6 separate regions of the Homo sapiens genome follow, and all the other regions are linked to region 1. The links are contacts of gene promoters, found by promoter capture Hi-C in human tissues and cell types (Jung and others, 2019). All regions are on one chromosome and are shown on one strand. Each heading gives the region's core, a stretch centred on a gene start or on the middle of the fragment in contact. The rest is flanking DNA. Distances are from core to core; before and after follow the strand shown.

The links. The method cuts DNA at HindIII sites, captures the fragments that hold promoters and counts their contacts. A contact is called where the count stands out against the background at its distance.
Region 2: a fragment that was not itself captured here is called in contact with the fragment with the promoter of ZMIZ1 in region 1 in 1 of the 25 tissues and cell types used here (heart right ventricle).
Region 3: a contact is called between a fragment that was not itself captured here and the fragment with the promoter of ZMIZ1 in region 1, in 1 of the 25 tissues and cell types used here (dorsolateral prefrontal cortex).
Region 4: a fragment that was not itself captured here is called in contact with the fragment with the promoter of ZMIZ1 in region 1 in 2 of the 25 tissues and cell types used here (dorsolateral prefrontal cortex and spleen).
Region 5: a contact is called between a fragment that was not itself captured here and the fragment with the promoter of ZMIZ1 in region 1, in 1 of the 25 tissues and cell types used here (dorsolateral prefrontal cortex).
Region 6: a contact is called between a fragment that was not itself captured here and the fragment with the promoter of ZMIZ1 in region 1, in 1 of the 25 tissues and cell types used here (dorsolateral prefrontal cortex).

Annotation. Positions count from the first base shown.
Region 1 is chr10:79,067,636-79,070,245 of GRCh38, reverse strand. It overlaps ZMIZ1 (zinc finger MIZ-type containing 1), which reads right to left and starts at 1,280. Exons shown (of 25, transcript NM_020338.4): 1 at 976-1,280. RefSeq lists enhancers at 270-319, 1,521-2,366, silencers at 520-1,499, 1,760-1,829 and a cis regulatory region at 962-1,647. The HindIII fragment of the contact is 18,402 bases long and covers 1-2,610 here.
Region 2 is chr10:78,218,796-78,221,405 of GRCh38, reverse strand. No RefSeq gene overlaps it. Among named protein-coding and RNA genes, the nearest start is that of LINC00856, 29 kb to the left of the region's middle. The HindIII fragment of the contact is 4,517 bases long and covers 1-2,610 here.
Region 3 is chr10:78,240,455-78,243,064 of GRCh38, reverse strand. No RefSeq gene overlaps it. Among named protein-coding and RNA genes, the nearest start is that of LINC00856, 6.9 kb to the left of the region's middle. The HindIII fragment of the contact is 7,188 bases long and covers 1-2,610 here.
Region 4 is chr10:78,325,400-78,328,009 of GRCh38, reverse strand. The region is part of intron 1 of LOC124902468 (a long non-coding RNA gene); the gene reads right to left. Among named protein-coding and RNA genes, the nearest start is that of LINC00595, 59 kb to the right of the region's middle. The HindIII fragment of the contact is 5,759 bases long and covers 1-2,610 here.
Region 5 is chr10:78,403,950-78,406,559 of GRCh38, reverse strand. No RefSeq gene overlaps it. Among named protein-coding and RNA genes, the nearest start is that of LINC00595, 140 kb to the right of the region's middle. The HindIII fragment of the contact is 4,448 bases long and covers 1-2,610 here.
Region 6 is chr10:78,551,144-78,553,753 of GRCh38, reverse strand. No RefSeq gene overlaps it. Among named protein-coding and RNA genes, the nearest start is that of LINC00595, 290 kb to the right of the region's middle. The HindIII fragment of the contact is 9,741 bases long and covers 1-2,610 here.

The sequences.
Region 1 (2,610 bases), core at 31-2,530:
CCCGCGCCCTAGACGCCGAGGCCGCGCTCCCCACTGTTTTTTCCCCAGCCCAGACGCCAGGAATGTGAAGCAAGCTTCCAGAACCCGCCTCCCCCCCCCGACCCCGGCTCCAGCCCCGGCCCCCCAACCTCCGCCCCGGCTGGCCTCCCACTCCCCCGGGGCCACCGCCGCCGGAGACGGAGAGGAAGAAAGAACACGGGGAAATTACTTTCGTATTTGCAACGCGCGCGCGCACACACACGCACATCTTCCCCCTGGGCTCCCCTCCTGGCCGGGGCAGCCCCGTCCAGGCACTGGCCTGAGCGCCCCTCTGGCTTGCGAAGCCCTGGGAGAAAACCCTGCACACACACCTCCGCGTTTCTCGTTTGTACCGCGCGCCAGCTTTCCCCGGGCAATTCCCACACAAACAACTTAACCGCGCCCCCACCTCCCATTTACAAAAGTGTATGTTTTCCCTGGAAATTCAGACGCACAAGTTAACACCACCACCCCTTGCCATCCTGAAATCCAGCGCTTTCCCCAGCGGTTCCTGTACACACACAGGCGCACAACTTCGCATCTCCCCAGAGGAGGCGAAGGAGACCGAGGCGGTCCTTCCCTCCCTCCTCCGATTCCCGGTCCTGCCCGGCCCCCGGGTGTAGGGAGCGAGGGCTGGAGGCGCGCCGGCAGGAGGCGGGCACCGGGTCCGCGCGCGCACGACCACACTTACGCCCCGCACACCCTGACAAACCCGGCCCCCACGCGCAGCCCAAGCCGGCTCCGCGCAGCCGGGAGCTCGCCGGCCGCCGGGCCTCGGCCCCCGGCCGCCAAGGAGAGCGGAGCGGAGCCCGCGCCGCCGGCCGGTCGCCCCGCTCCGGGGGACACTTTAAGGGAAAAACCCCAGCACCCAATCCCCACGCTTGCACCCCGAGAGTCCCCGGGGAGCGGGAGGTAGCCCCGGAGCCAGCGGGCGCCTGGCTCTGGCCCCAAACTTACCGGGCGCTGCGAGCGCCGCTGCCGCCGCTGGAGGACGCGCCGCCGCCACCGCCGGGTAGGGCAGGCTCGGGCCGGGAGGAGCGCAGCGAGGGCGCCGAGATCCGCTCGGCTCCGGCTCCTGCTCCGCGCCGGCTGGGGCTGGGGTCACCGCGCTGCGCCGGCGTTGCTCGCTCGCTCGGCCGCCCGATCGCTGCTCGCCCGCCTGCCGCCCGGCCGCCCGCTCTCCCCGGCGCCCGCCGCCGCCGCTCGCTTTTTTAATGTCCACAGACAGTGAAAAGGAACTCGGCGTTAGGGGGTGAGTAAGTGAATCAACTCGCCCGGAGCCGAGCAAGTTGAAGTGTCAGATTACATTGGCTATTCTATTTCCAAAGGGCCCCGCGCCGCCGGCCGCCCGCAAAAGCCGGTGCGGAGTCAGGCCGGAGTGGAGCGCCGCGCCGCGCCGCCGCCGCTGCCGGCGCTCGGCTTGGCTCGCGCTCTGCGCTCTCTTTCCCCTTTCCTTTTCGCCTCTCCTCGTTCTCTCCCTCGCCTTTCCTTTCCTTTCTCTTCCTCTCTTCCTCGCTCCTCGGTCTCGGCGCTCTCCCAGCTTTTCTTCTCCTGGCTCCTGGTTCCCCGCTACGCCACCAGTCCACTCACCTCTCTCCTTGCCCTACTCCCTCCGCTACTCCCTGACGCCCCCTGCAGCCCCCAGCCCCCCTGCAGGCCCCAGCCCCAGTAAGTTTGGAGAGGGGAACAAATGCTGAGCCTAGGTAGGGACCACCTTGGGGAGGAAGCCAAAATCACACTGCTCACCCGAGAGCCCCTGCCCCGCGCTGGCACGCCCCCGCCTGGAGTGCACTCGTGGCCCCGGGCGCTGTCAGGTACCCGAATTGGGGTAAGCGAGTTGGTAACTGGACCTCCAAAGCCTTCCCCTGGGGTTGACTTTGGAATTGTTCCTACAGCCCGGGGACTGGTGGTTGGGGTGGGAAGAGGACCACCACCACCAAGGGTGACTTTGAGGGAGACTAGAGCGCGGCCCCCCGACAGCTGTGGGGGAGCGGGGGTGTGGTGGCCACAGTTGATCCGCGGCACCTAGCACAGTCCAGAGACGCGTGGATTCCCCTAGGCCCGGCGCGGAGCGCCCGGGGCGCTGTGCGCGCGGGCTGCGTGGGAGCTGCTAGGCTGGGGCCTGGCCCTCTGCCCCGGACTGGGCACTGCCAGAGATAGCGGAGAGCTAAGGTACTCACGAGGCGCAGTTGGGTGCACCCACTCGCGGGAGTTCCCCTAGCCGACCCACCCCCCCCCCCCGAGAGCATCCAACTACGCGCCCACTTTGGCTCACGTCCACTGCCACTCTCACGGAAACTCCTACAAGAACGGCACACACGTTCGCTCCCTCAGCATTGCAAACACGCTCCCCCCCAAACCACAAACGCGCCCCCACACACTCGCTTACTTTCCCTCACAAAGATGCCCGCTTACACGGCCACAGCAGGCACGCTCAGAGACACGCAGTTACACACACACATCGCTGTACACAACCCCACATACAATCAAAAAACAAAACACGAAACGTTCCCCTGGGCACTAAATCCTCACGTTAACGTACACACACAAACACACGCCCTCCTCTCCCACTTCCTCTTCCATACCCCTTCC
Region 2 (2,610 bases), core at 82-2,581, 850 kb after region 1:
ATGAGAATTGGCGGTTAGGACAGCACTCATCCCTGTCTTCGAGGTAGGAACTTCAGGGAAGATAAGATGCTCAGCCCAGGCCCAAGGCCACCTCTCTTAGGAACAAGGTTCCTTTCCCTTGTTACTGCTGCTGTCAACAGCAAAGACAGTGTGGGAGGACAGGGGAGTGCCAGCTTGTGAGGTGAGCCACTGGCCTTCCAGCCTCAGCTTTCCCAAACTGTTTGGATGACCTCAAGAGAGTCTCCTTCCCTATCTGGTCCTCAGTTTCCCCCATGTGTACAATGTGGAGGTTAGCCTAGATCTGCAATGGCAAAGAACTGTCATTTTGTATGCCAACTGTAATCAATTGCTAGCGACTGCCTGGAGCACTCAGATGAGAATAATTCTGAGCTTAGCAGAGACACAATTGATTAGTGATGTCTGCCATAGGCACAAGTAGGAGTGGAGGTGGCATGTGTGCTACTCCATCCTTTATCTTCTGAGTCTTGACACCATGTGGGTCTCTGACCTGACTCCTTGGGTTTACACTGGACTCCAACCTGCGGTGTGCTGGAGGCAGCTCACACCCACTCCTGAGAGTCAAGTGTGCTCATCTCTTCCCAACTCTGCATTTGGTGATGTCACATTGGTATTGTGGAATCGGTCACGATGGGGACGTTTACAGGGAACCGTTAAACATTTTTGAGCACACTAGCTCTATCCCTCCCACAGCAGGCCAGGGCGGGGGGAGAGGGGAATCCAGGCAGCCCCCAACAGTCCTGAGCTCTATGGGAATCCGTGTCCCCTGGAGAGTGGCCAGTGCCAGCAGATGCTGGAATCCAGACTGTTCTATCACAGACTCACAACCCCTGCAGCCCACTTTATTCACAATCCTCATCACTGCTCTTGCTGCACAGAGCCCCATTCAGACACTCTACCCCATCTACCCTGGCACCACTCATCCCTTCTTCCTCCAGGAAGCCTTCTGAGACTGCATTCACAATTATTCCTCCCCCACTGAGCTCCCATTTCACTCTGTCTTTGTTGGTGCTGGAAGGAAAACTGCCTCTTTAGAACAGGTTCTCGGTTGAAGACTTACATCTCCTCCTTCCCCAGCACCCAGTCAAGACCCCACATAGGCATGGTCCTTGAATAGACATCCAGGGAGAGGCCAGCTGCGTTATCCACCACCTGGGGCACAGTCCTGACATGCCCACGGTAATCATCCCAACCAGCTCCTCATTTCCCAGATGGGGAAATGGAGGCCCACAACAACATACAACTGCCTGAGCAGCTGAGCTGACTCTCGAACTGAGGTCTCCAGACTCCCATTGTGTCCACAGTTGGTTCCTTCCAGTGGGTTCTTGGTCTCGCTGACTTCAAGAATGAAGCCACAGACCTTTGCGATGAGTGTTACAGCTCTTAAAGGTAGCACAGACCCAAACAAAGAGCAGCAGAAAGATTCATTGTGAAGAGCAAAAGAACAAAGCTTCCGCAAGCTGCAAAGGGACTCTAGCAGGTTGCCGCTGATGGTGGGGGTGGTCAACTTTTATTCCCTTATTTGTCCCCGCCCACATCCTGCTGATTGGTCCATTTTACAGAGTGCTGATTGGTCCACCTTACAGAGTGCTGATTGGCCCATTTTACAGAGTGCTGATTGGTGCATTTACAATCCTTTAGCTAGACACAGAGTGCTGATTGATGCATTTTTTACAGAGTGCTGATTGGTGCATTTACAATCTTTTAGCTAGACACAGAGTGCTGATTGGTGCGTTTACAATCCTCTAGCTAGACAGAAAAGTTCTCCAAGTCCCCACTCCACCCAGGAAGTCCAGCTGGCTTCACCTCTCACCATCACACTGCCTCGGGCACCCTCCCACCACACTGCCTTGGTGCCCTATCACAGAAGCCAGAGGCTATGGAAACAGAGACTGAAGCCCACAGGGGACAAGGGAGCTACCCAAGGTCACAGAGCAGCCTGGGAGCAGAGCCAGGCAGAAACCCAGGTCTCAGCAACCCTCTACGCCAGCATCCTTGCCTTTCCCTTCACACCACCCTGACCTGCCAAACCAGGCCTTGACACCCCAGGGCAGGGCTCTGGGGCACAGCCTCCACCTTTCTCTCCACCTCCAGGGTTAGACAGCACCAAACTACAGGGTCACCCAGCAACCAGGGGGCCACTCTCTCCAGCAGGCTGCAAAGCCCGGGCTGCATTTGGGGCCATCTCCTCCCACCTCTCTTTCCTCCGGCTGCTGCTTAACATGCACACGGGAACCTCTAAGCTGAGCGTATAGATTTCTCTTTGTCTTTGGTGGTAATTATTAGCTGTCTCGGCGGGTGAATGCAGGCAGAAACAAAGGCAGCAAGGGTTGTAAAACCTTTTATCTCGATCAGGCCGCATTATTTGATAAGGTGCTAAGCTAATAGCAACGCATGTCAAATTGTGTTTAGACAGATCGAGGGGCTGGGAATGGAGGGTATATTTGTCTCCGGAAACCTGCACCTGGAAGGATAAAAAGAAAGGCGCACTGATATTCGCAGCCCCGGGCTGAATGCAGACAGCCAAGCCTCTGGGACTCCTGGCTGAAAGACTCCTGGAAAGGGGGCAAAATGAGAGGCTGAGAAGGGAGA
Region 3 (2,610 bases), core at 81-2,580, 830 kb after region 1:
TATGAAACCAATTTTTCCTCCTGGGCCTCCAGGTCTGTGATGGGAGGGACTGCCGTGAAGGTCTCTGACATGGCCTGGAGACATTTTCCCCATGGTCCTGGGGAGTCACATTAGGCTCCTTGCGACTTATGCAAATTTCTGCAGTCAGCTTGAATTTCTCCTCAAAAAATGGGTTTTTCTTTTCTACTGCATAATCAGGCTGCACATTTTTTGAACTTTTGTACTGTTTCCCTTTTAAAATGGAGTGCTTTTAACAGTACCCAAGTCACCTCTTGAATGCTTTTTTGCTTAGAAATTTCTTCTGCAGATACCCTAAATCATCTCTCTCAAGTTTAAAGTTCCACAGATCTCTAGGGCAGGAGCAAAATGCCACCAGTCTCTTTGCTGAAACATAACAAGAGTCACCTTTGCACCAGTTCCCAACGAGTTGCTCATCTCTATCTGAGACCACCTCAGCCTGGACCTTGTTGTCCATATTGCTATCAGGCTTTTGGTCAAAGCTATTCAACAAGTCTCTAGGAAATTCCAAACTTTCCCAAATTTTTCTGTCTTCTTCTGAGCCCTCCAAAACTGTTCCAGCCTCTGCCTGTTACCCAGTTCCAAAGTTGCTTCCACATTTTCAGGTATCTTTTCAGCAACTCCCCACTCTACTGGTACCAATTTACTGTATTAGTCCATTTTTGCACTGCTGATAAAGACATACCAAAGACTGGGAAGAAAAGGAGGTTTAATCTGACTTACAGTTCCACATGGCTGGGGAGGTCTCATAATCATGGCGGAGGATGAAAGACATTTCTTACATGGCAGCAGCAAGAGAGAAATGAGGAAGAAGCAAAAGTGGAAACCCCTGATAAACCCATCAGATCTCATGAGACTTATTCACTATCACGAGAATAGCATGGGAAAGACAGGCCCCCATAATTCAGTCACCTCCCCCTGGGTCCTTCCCACAACATGTGGGAATTCTGGGAGGTACAATTCAAGTTGAGATTTGAATGGGGACACAGCCATACCATATCAGTACATATATATATATATATATATAAAATAGATGCAAGTGTGTGAATGTATGCTTACGTGTGTGTCCACTGAGAGAACCTGGGAGCTGGAGCTGTGGCACTCCAATAGTAATGAGCACACCTAGGACCCAGATCTTGTCTTCTAAATACCATTCTCCACTAAAAGGAACAAGGACTCCCTGGAGAAACAGCTGATTCCAAAGCTAAGGAGGAGTACCTTGGTTTACCAAAAATTAAAGAATGTTCAAAGAATGATGGGGACAAAATCAAAGAGATACAGAAGCCCACTTGAAGGGGCACCTACTGGTTAAATCCAGGACAGCTTGAGCACCAGAATAAATAATGATATTAATGGATTATAACGAATTGCATCAAACAGAAATCCATGAGTTTATATAGACAAAATATACAAATGAATAAATTGAAAGTTTAGGAGGAACAAGATATTTACACAGTCTCAAAGTACCTCTTCATTTAAAAAAAAGTATTAATTACAAACGAGAAAAAGTAACTTTACAGTGGAAAAAACTGGCAGAAACCATCTTCAAGTGATCAAAGCTTCACTCTCCAGTAAGGAGAGAAATCAAAATCCCACGTGATATGAAGGGATGCAACAAGGAGAACTCAGCATCACTTCTGATATTCCTGCCAAATATGAATAAGCTGAAGCAAGTCCTGAAAAAACTTCAGAAAAACCCACTGACAGATGTTCAAGAAAATAACTGACCTGTACTCTGCAATAGTGCCAAGGTCATGAAAGTCAAGGAAAGCCTGAGGAACTGTCCCAGATAAAGGAGAATGAAGAGACATGACAACTAAATGCAAATGTGATTCTGAACCGGATCTTTCTGCTGCAAAGGACATTGTTGGGACAATTGGCAAAAGTTGAATGGTGTCTGAGGAATAGTTGGTCTTCATGTACAAGGTCAGCATCCTGATACTGATGGTCATATTAGGTTATGTCAGAAAATGTCCTTGCTTGTAGGAAATGTGCACTAAAGTATCCAGGGATGATGAGGCATTGGGTCAACAACTTACTGTCAAATGGGTTTAGAAAAAAAAAGTTCTTTATACTCTACTTGCAACTTTTCTTGCTTTATTTTTTTTATTATTATTTTTTTTTAGACAGAGTCTCACTCTTTTGCCCAGGCTGGAGTGCAATAGTACAATCTCAGCTCACTGCAACCTCCACCTCCTGGGTTCAAGCGATTCTCACCTGAGTAGCTGAGATTCGAGGTGCGTGCCACCATGCCCAGCTAATACTTGCAACTTTTCTATAAGCTTGAGATTATTTCAAAATAAAAGTAAACGCTGGGAGCAGTGACTGATGCCTGTAATCCCAGCACTTTGGGAGGCCGAGGCAGGCAGATTGCTTGAGCTCGGGAGTTCGAGACCAGCCTGCCAACATGGCAAAAACCTGTCTCTACTAAAAATACAAAAATTAGCCGGGCATGGTGATGGGCGCCTATAGTCCCAGCTTCACAGGATGCTGAAGTGGGAGATCACTTGAACCTGGGAGGTGGAAGTTGCAGTGAGCCGAGATCATGCCACTGCACTCCAGCCTGGGAGACAGAGCAAAATGCTGTTTCCG
Region 4 (2,610 bases), core at 35-2,534, 740 kb after region 1:
CAGCACCCATGTGTGCCTCTCTGGAGTCCAGGGACTAGTGTATCTAGTCTGCCTCTGCCACCACCACTGGCACCCACCTGCCCACCACTGCTCATGCCTGCACATGCTGCTTGGAGGCCCAAGAGTTGGCCCTCCACCACTGCTGCCACCACAAATAAATACTACACACACCAACCAGGGGCTCAAAGACATGCCCACATACTTGGCCCACTGCTGCCAATTCTGGCATCCAAACAAGCTGCCTGGTGGCCTAAGGACTGGCCCACTTGGACCCATGACCAACAACACCCACATACACTATCAGGGGCCTGAGGACCAGCATGCTCAGCCTGCTGCCACCACCACTGGGTACCAAAGGACTGGCCTGCCTAGCATCCCTGTCCCTAGTAAAGTCTTGCCACAGCCCCTACTAATGACCACTGCCTAAGCCACCGAGGAACTCACAAACACCACTGATGCTGATTACAGATGAAGAAATCATACAAAGACCACACTACTGCAACTATCCAGAATCAAAGCCAAAACACCCTACCCAACCAACACTATAGATACACCTATGGAAAAAAAGTCTTTTCCTACAAAAGCCAATCTATAAAATTGGAAGATGTAATTATTAAATTAAATGTGCAGATATCAATGTAAAAACACATGAAAATGCAAGGAAAATGACACCTCCAAAGGAATACAATAAGCCTCTAGTAATAGTTCCCAACAAAAAGGAAATCTATAAAACACCTGAAAAAGAATTTAAAATAATTATATTTAAGAAACTCGGTGAGATATAAGAGAACACAGAGAAGCAATACATATAAGTCAGAAAAACAATTTATGATCTGAATGAGAAGTTCAACAAAGAGATAAGCATAATTTAAAAAAAAAGAAATTCTGAAAATGAAAAATTCAATAAATAAAATTTAAAAACAATTGAGAGTTAAAACAATAGGCTAGATTAAGCAAAAGAATGTTGAAATAACCCAGTCAGACAAAACAAGAAAAGAAAAAAGAATGAAAAAACCTACATGATATATAGGACACCATAAAGTGATCATATAGTCAAATTTTAGGATTTACTGGAGAAGATATGGGCAATAGTATAGAAAACCTATTTAATGAAATAATAGCTGAAAATTTCCCATGTCTTACAAGAAATATAGACAGATACAGGAAGCTCAAAAATCTCCAAAAAGATTAAACTCAAAAAGTCTTCTCCAAAGCATATTATAGCCAAACCATCAAAAGTCAAAGATAAAAAGAGAATTCTAAAAAACAGCAAAAGAGTCAAGTCACATATAAGGAAGTCCAATTCAACTAACAGTGGATTTCTTAGCCAAAACCTTACAGAACGGGAGAGAATAAAATGACATATTCAAAGAGCTGAAAGAAAAAAAAAAACTGCCAGCCAAGAATACTTTAACAAGCAAAGCTATCCTTCAAACATGAAGGAGAAATAAAATCTTTCCTAGACAAGAAAAACTGAGGGAATTTATCACCACTAGACCAGGCCTATAAGAAATGCTCAAGGAAGCCCTACATCTGGAAGGAAAAGAACAGTACCTACCACCATAAAAACACACAAAAGTATAAAACTCATTTGTAGACCAGATATAAAAGTGACAAAAAGAGAAAGAGAAATGAGTCAAATATTACCACTACAGAAAACCACCAAACTGCAAAAAAACAATGAGAGGAAGAAACTAACAAAGGATATACAAAATAATGATAAAACAATTAACAAAATGACTTGAATACATCCTCACCTGTCAATAATAACCTTAAATGTAAATAGATTAAATTCCCTACTTCAAAGATACAGACTGGCTAAAGGGGAAAAAAGAAACATGAACCAACTATGTATTTGCTACAAGAAATTCACTTCACTTGTAAAGATACACACAAACTGAAAGTGAAGAGATGAAAAAAATATATTCCACACAAATGGAAATCAAAAGTGTGCAAGAGTAGTTAGATAAAACAGACTAATGATCTTTGTCTCTTTTTATCATTTTTGACTTAAAGATGATTATATGATGATAAAGTGATCAATTCAGCAAGAAGCTGTAACAATTATAAATATATATACACCCAACACCACAGCAGTATTACTACAAATAATAATAGTTGAGGACTTGAACACCTCACTCTCAGTTTTATAGGGATCATCTAGACTGAAAATCATCAAAGAAATATTGGATTTAAACTGCACTTTAGGCCAAATGAACCCAACAGACATTTACAGAACATTTCATCCAACAATGGCAGAATACACGTTTTTCTCATCAGCACATGGAACATTCTCTAGGATAGACCATAGGTAAGAACACAAAACAAGTCTCAACAAATTTTTAAAAATCAAAATTACATCAGGTATCTTCTCAGACAACAATGGAATAAAACTAGAAATCGATAACAAAAAGAAACTTTAGAAACTATAAAAATACTTGGAAATTAAATAACATGCTCCTGAACAACCAATGGACCAATGAAAAAATTAAGAAGAAAATTTAAAAATTTTTTGAAACAAATGAAAATAAAAACACATCATACCAAAACCTATGGGATACAGCAAAAGCAGTGCTAAGAGGGACATTTATAACAATAAATGCCTACATC
Region 5 (2,610 bases), core at 53-2,552, 660 kb after region 1:
CCCCAAGACTAAGCGCATTGCCCAATATCCTAGGAGGCATTGCAAGAAAGAATTTGCTGAACAAGAATTTGTTAAATGAATGAAAGGAAAGCAGGAAGGGAGAAAAGAAAGGAGCAAGGGCTCCTTGCCGAAGGGAAGTTAGACCTCCAAAGAGCAGAGTAAAGGGAGCCGGGAGGGTTGGTGAGCGCCGGGACAGCCACAACAATTTGTTCCCCCCCTTTTACCCCAGGGGGTTAAAATCTTGCTGCACCAGGATGGGGTTGTCCTTTCTCAGAGCCTGGGAATGAAACATGATAAGGGGTCTCCAAGGTCACCCAGTCCCTTCTCCTTCCGTGGGAGCCTCTCTGCAGAGCCTAGATGGGCAGTTAGGTCTTCTGCTCAGCCACCTCCAGTGACAAGGTAGTCACTCCCCATCATGATCACCCATGTGAAGTAGCCTCTGCCTCCCCAGAACTGGAACCATCCCAAAGAGAAGGATTAGGAGCATGGGCAAAGTCCAGCAATGCACTCAGCCACCCGGTATCCTCAGGGTGGAAACCAGCTCTCCAGCCCCCGGGTCTCCTCCCCTTGGAGAACCCTTGCACTGCTCTATCAGGAATCGGCATTCCCTCCCCACTCAGCCTGGCTGTCTGCTCTGGCCTCGCACCAGTCGCTTAATGCCACTCCTTGAGTTTGGAGCCCAGAACTAAACACGCCTCTCCCAGGAGTCTTGAAGGGAAACCAGCCAAATGTGAAGGAAGCTGAAGAGGACAATGAATGTGCCCATGCTCATTCCAGGGATGGACTTCATTAGCTGGAGAAAGAGATATTTTCTAGAGCTGCCACTGGGCTTGGCGAAGGCCAGTCTCAGGCAGGGGTTGGGGCTTGTCCCATGCCCCATACTAAGGATCTATCATCTTGATTTTCCAAGCCCACCATCAAGGTCCATCTGGAAAGAATGGAGAAAAGCCTGAACTAGGAACGTGTTATGACCCCACCTGTTTCTCTTCCGTCCCTGAAAGCAGCGCCTCTACCCCACATTCCCTCCCATGAAAACAGACTCTCAGGAGAGACGATGGACCTCAGTCTGCCTGGGGTAGGTGATTAATAACATTGTAATGCATCATCCTTCCAGAGGGATTGGCACTGGCAGGATCCAGGATTTAAGCTAAAGTAGCAAAGCAATAATGAGGGGATTTCAGGCCCTGACCAGCAGCTGGGGATGAAGCACAGCCCTGGGAATCTTCCCAGTATCTTTGAGACCATTCATAAGTCATCAACAGTAGAGATGCCGGCCTGGGTTTTTTCAGGTTGGCCACTTGCTTGCTGTGTGGACACATCACTGAACCTTTCTGACCGAGTTTCATCTGTGCAATGTGGATAATACTTCTACTCTCATCAAATTGTTGTGAAGAGCAAATGAAATAATGGAGGTCAGCCACCTGGCACAGAATGGGTGCTCCATCACCATTTCCTTGCTTCCGTCTTCCATGTACTAAGCATCTAGACCATTTTCATGGAGTAGACCATACAGGGACCAGGATGTAGGGTGTGTGTAAAGGCATTATACCTGTGCACTTGAAACTAGTTATTCCCCACAGTCTGAGGAAACTAGACCTTGAAACAGTCCCAACCTTCCCTCTGTCTTTTGCCCCAGAGCAGTGTGCAAATTGAAGAAAGCATCTCAGAGGCTAGTGGGCCTTACAATGGAGATCATGTGGTTCCCACCTCCAAGTCCGTTCCTCTACATCCTGAGAAATCATAGGCTGGGGGCTCTCTGGAGTCACCCTTTGGAGACAGAGAAGTGGTCAGCAGTCACTTCTTCCTCCAGTTGGCACCAAGTCCAACTTGGTGTTGTTTATCTGTTGCCACCATAAAGCTTGGTGACTTCAAACAAACATTTATCACCATCTCTCATGTTTCTGCGGGTTTACTGGGTTCAGCTGAGCAGCTCACGCACCAGGTCTCACATGGGATTGCAGTCAGATGTCCACTGGGGCTGGCATCATCTGAAGGTTTGGCCCATCTGGGTATCCCAAAAGGCTCACTCACGTGGCTGGGCTGTTGCAGGGAACTCAGCCGAGGCTGTCCACCAGAGCACCTACACATGGCCTCTTCTATGGCTTTGCCATCTCATAGTATGGAGGCTGGCTTCCCAGAAGGAGCATCCCAAGAGAGAATTCTAAAGGCCCCGGGCAGAAGCTGCAAAGCTTCTTATGGCTTAACCTTGGAAGTCTCAGAACATCCCTTCCATCCCACTGTATTGATCAAGTAGGCTCAAGCCCACATTCAAGGTGGGGGAGATGGGAGTCTGCATCTTCATGGGGGAGGGGCAAGTTCACACTGCAGAAGGAAATGTGGCATGGTGACAGTGTGGTGAGCATCTCTGGAAAGTTCTATGTTTCATGTGCATCAACCTACCCCTCCCAGGCAACAGAACGCGTGCTAACTGGGGAGAAGAGTAAGCACTGTCCAAAGAGTCGGACCAGGCCATATCTTGCAGCTGCCTGGGGCCAGCCAGCTGTCACTTATACCAACAAAGTAGCAGCTAAGTCCCAACAGGCTGCTAGTGTCTCCCCATCTGCTTTAAGGGTTGTAGTAAGGACAAAAGGAGATTAGCAGCTTCTTCAT
Region 6 (2,610 bases), core at 57-2,556, 520 kb after region 1:
ATATTTATTAAAGCATTGTTCATAGTAGCAAAGTTACATGCAACCTAAATATTCAACCATAGATTACCTCAATAAAGAAAGCCTTGTCCACATATTAGAATATATACACTAATAAAAGTGGTAGTGTCAAATAATATTTAGTAAAATGCTTATGACATATTACTGCTGATTATATAGCTCTATGCATTGATAAAAGACTGAAAGGAAAACCATCAAATTCCTAGCAGTGGCTATCATTAGGTGATGTGATTACAATTCATGTTTTATTTTTTTCCTGTATCTTTTCATATTTTCCATGTTCTCCATGATGAGCTTGCATTGTTTTCTTTTGTAATGAGGTAGCAGGGGTGGGAAAAGGTTATTTTTAAATGGGAGAAAGCAACATTTTGTTTTTAAAAAGATATTATTTTTGAGAGAAATAGCACCACTCCAAGTTCCCAAATCTTGACATCAGGGAGAAAGCTGTTTCCTACAGAGCTGCACACCTAGGAATCCTAGGTCCTGAACCCCTCCGTAAGCCCCAGAGGTCCAGACATTTTTGTTGCTGGTGGGTTGGCCTGAGGCACCTTCTTACCTTTCTTCCTAGCTGGGCCAGCTGCTAGGCTTCCAAGCAGGGAGTGTGTTTGCAGGATTCAGGGAGGCCTTCAGGGAGTATGGGGGTGGTAGCCAGCCCAGGGCCGAATCTCTGCAGTTCCTTCTCCACTTGTCTCCATCTTTAGCACTATTTCTGCTTCCTACTCTCTGCCTTCCCAGGCGCCTGTATCTCCCTGATCTGATCTCTTCTTGCCTCAATTTCCGTTTGTCTCTCTCATGCCCCTGTCTCTGTTCTCTCAGTCTCCCTCTAGATCTGCCTCTCCCGGTGTCTACCTCTAGCCCCCATCCCCAGGCAGACGCTGCCTCCAGCTCTCTGCCCCCTCCTGCCACGCTGCTGCTGAGCTTGGCAGGACGCTGAAGGTGATGGGCTGCAGCCTGTCGAGGGCCCGGAAGCTGTTACTATTACCGGGAGCTGCTTCTGTCAGGAGAATGTTCTCACATGTCACAAATCAGAAGAGGGTGTCTTCACTTCCTTCTGCCTGATCTCAACAAATTCCACATATAGTCCCCGCACGACTGCTGACCCCTCCCCCTACATCCCCAAGTGCAAGTAGCAGGCAGGAGGCTTTCTGAAAGCTGTCCTGAGAACATGTAAAGTCACCAAGGGGACAGATTGGAGGAGTCATACTCTGAATTCTGATCAGTAGAGAGGTCTGCCCTCACCCTCCCACCCCCACCCCTGCAGAGCAGTCTACAGCAAGCATACTGTGCTGAAAAACATCTCCCGGAGCCAAGAACAGCAGGCCTTGGTCTGGAAGCTGACATACTTGCTAAGCACTCCTTAGAAGACCTGACTCTGGGAAGGAAGCCACCAGGGCAGGCTGAACTTGGAGGGGGAGGGCCCTCACATCTGGGTTTGGCTGCTCCTCTTCTGCTGGAAAAACTCAAAGCCATCCATCTAGAGACTCCCAGGAACATGTCCCCAGCTCCCAGCTCCCCGGTGAAGCTCAGGCTGCTGTGTTTGGTAATTCAGGAAAAGACAATGCTAAGGAAGTATGTGGAGTTGTGGTAGGGGGATGAGAAGAAAATGGCATGGCCCAGTGAACAGAGACCTTGTCTGGGGAGAATGGTCCCTGAGGCTAATAGGTGAGGCCTGGCTGGAGCCAGCTTCTTAGGTACCAGGGATGCATCAAAGGGCTACCCCCAGGAGGAACACTGCACTGGGCTCTGTTTTGTTGGGTTTTGGTTTGTTTTTCCTTTACTGACTCCCTGCTTCCCCCACCTTCCCTCCTGCCCATGCACATGCTCTGACCCTGGACAAAGAACTTCCCTTTAGTTTCCCAACCTGCAGGATGAGATAGGAGTTTCATAGTAATCTGCCCCCAAAGTCCAGGAAAATGCCCTAGGAGCTGCCAGCAATAGTGAAAGGCCCTTCCCCACCGCAGCCCCTGGGGCCCTGCATTGTAAATTTCGAGGTTCAGTCCTTGGAGGGAAGTCAGCCTTTAGGATAGTGGGCTAGAGAAGAACAAACCCTCGCTCACCAACACTACCAAGCTCCCAGGGTTCTCCAGCCTTGTGATGTGGCCTCCTCGGCGCCTCACCACGGTGCGTAGTTGAGGGGGCAAAAAACCCAGCTCTCTAGAAATAGTTGTCATCTGTTTTAACCTTTGTTACTTCAACTGTGAAATGAAAGCGGCCTGGGCTAGAGGATCAAAGTAGGACTGAAGGTGGAGGATTTGCCCCAGGGCAGAAAGCCAGTGAATGGCAGATGATTTGAATTAGAAAGTGCTGTGGGGGTGGGGGCAGGGATCCACTTGTAGGTTTCCCTTCAAACAATGGGAGGCGGTTTTGTGGGCAAGTGTGCTGGTGCGAGAGGGGGTGCACACTAACATGTTAATCCTTTGGGAGGCCTTACAGTGAAATGAAATTGGTAAAATCAGCTTTTAAGTTATTAAGTGGGTACTTTAGACATTTACTTCTCTGAGAATTGAGTGCAAATAGTAGTAGACACAGAGAAGCTATTTGTTGAATGAATTGAATGAACGAAACAATAATTGATTCAATGAATCCACAAAC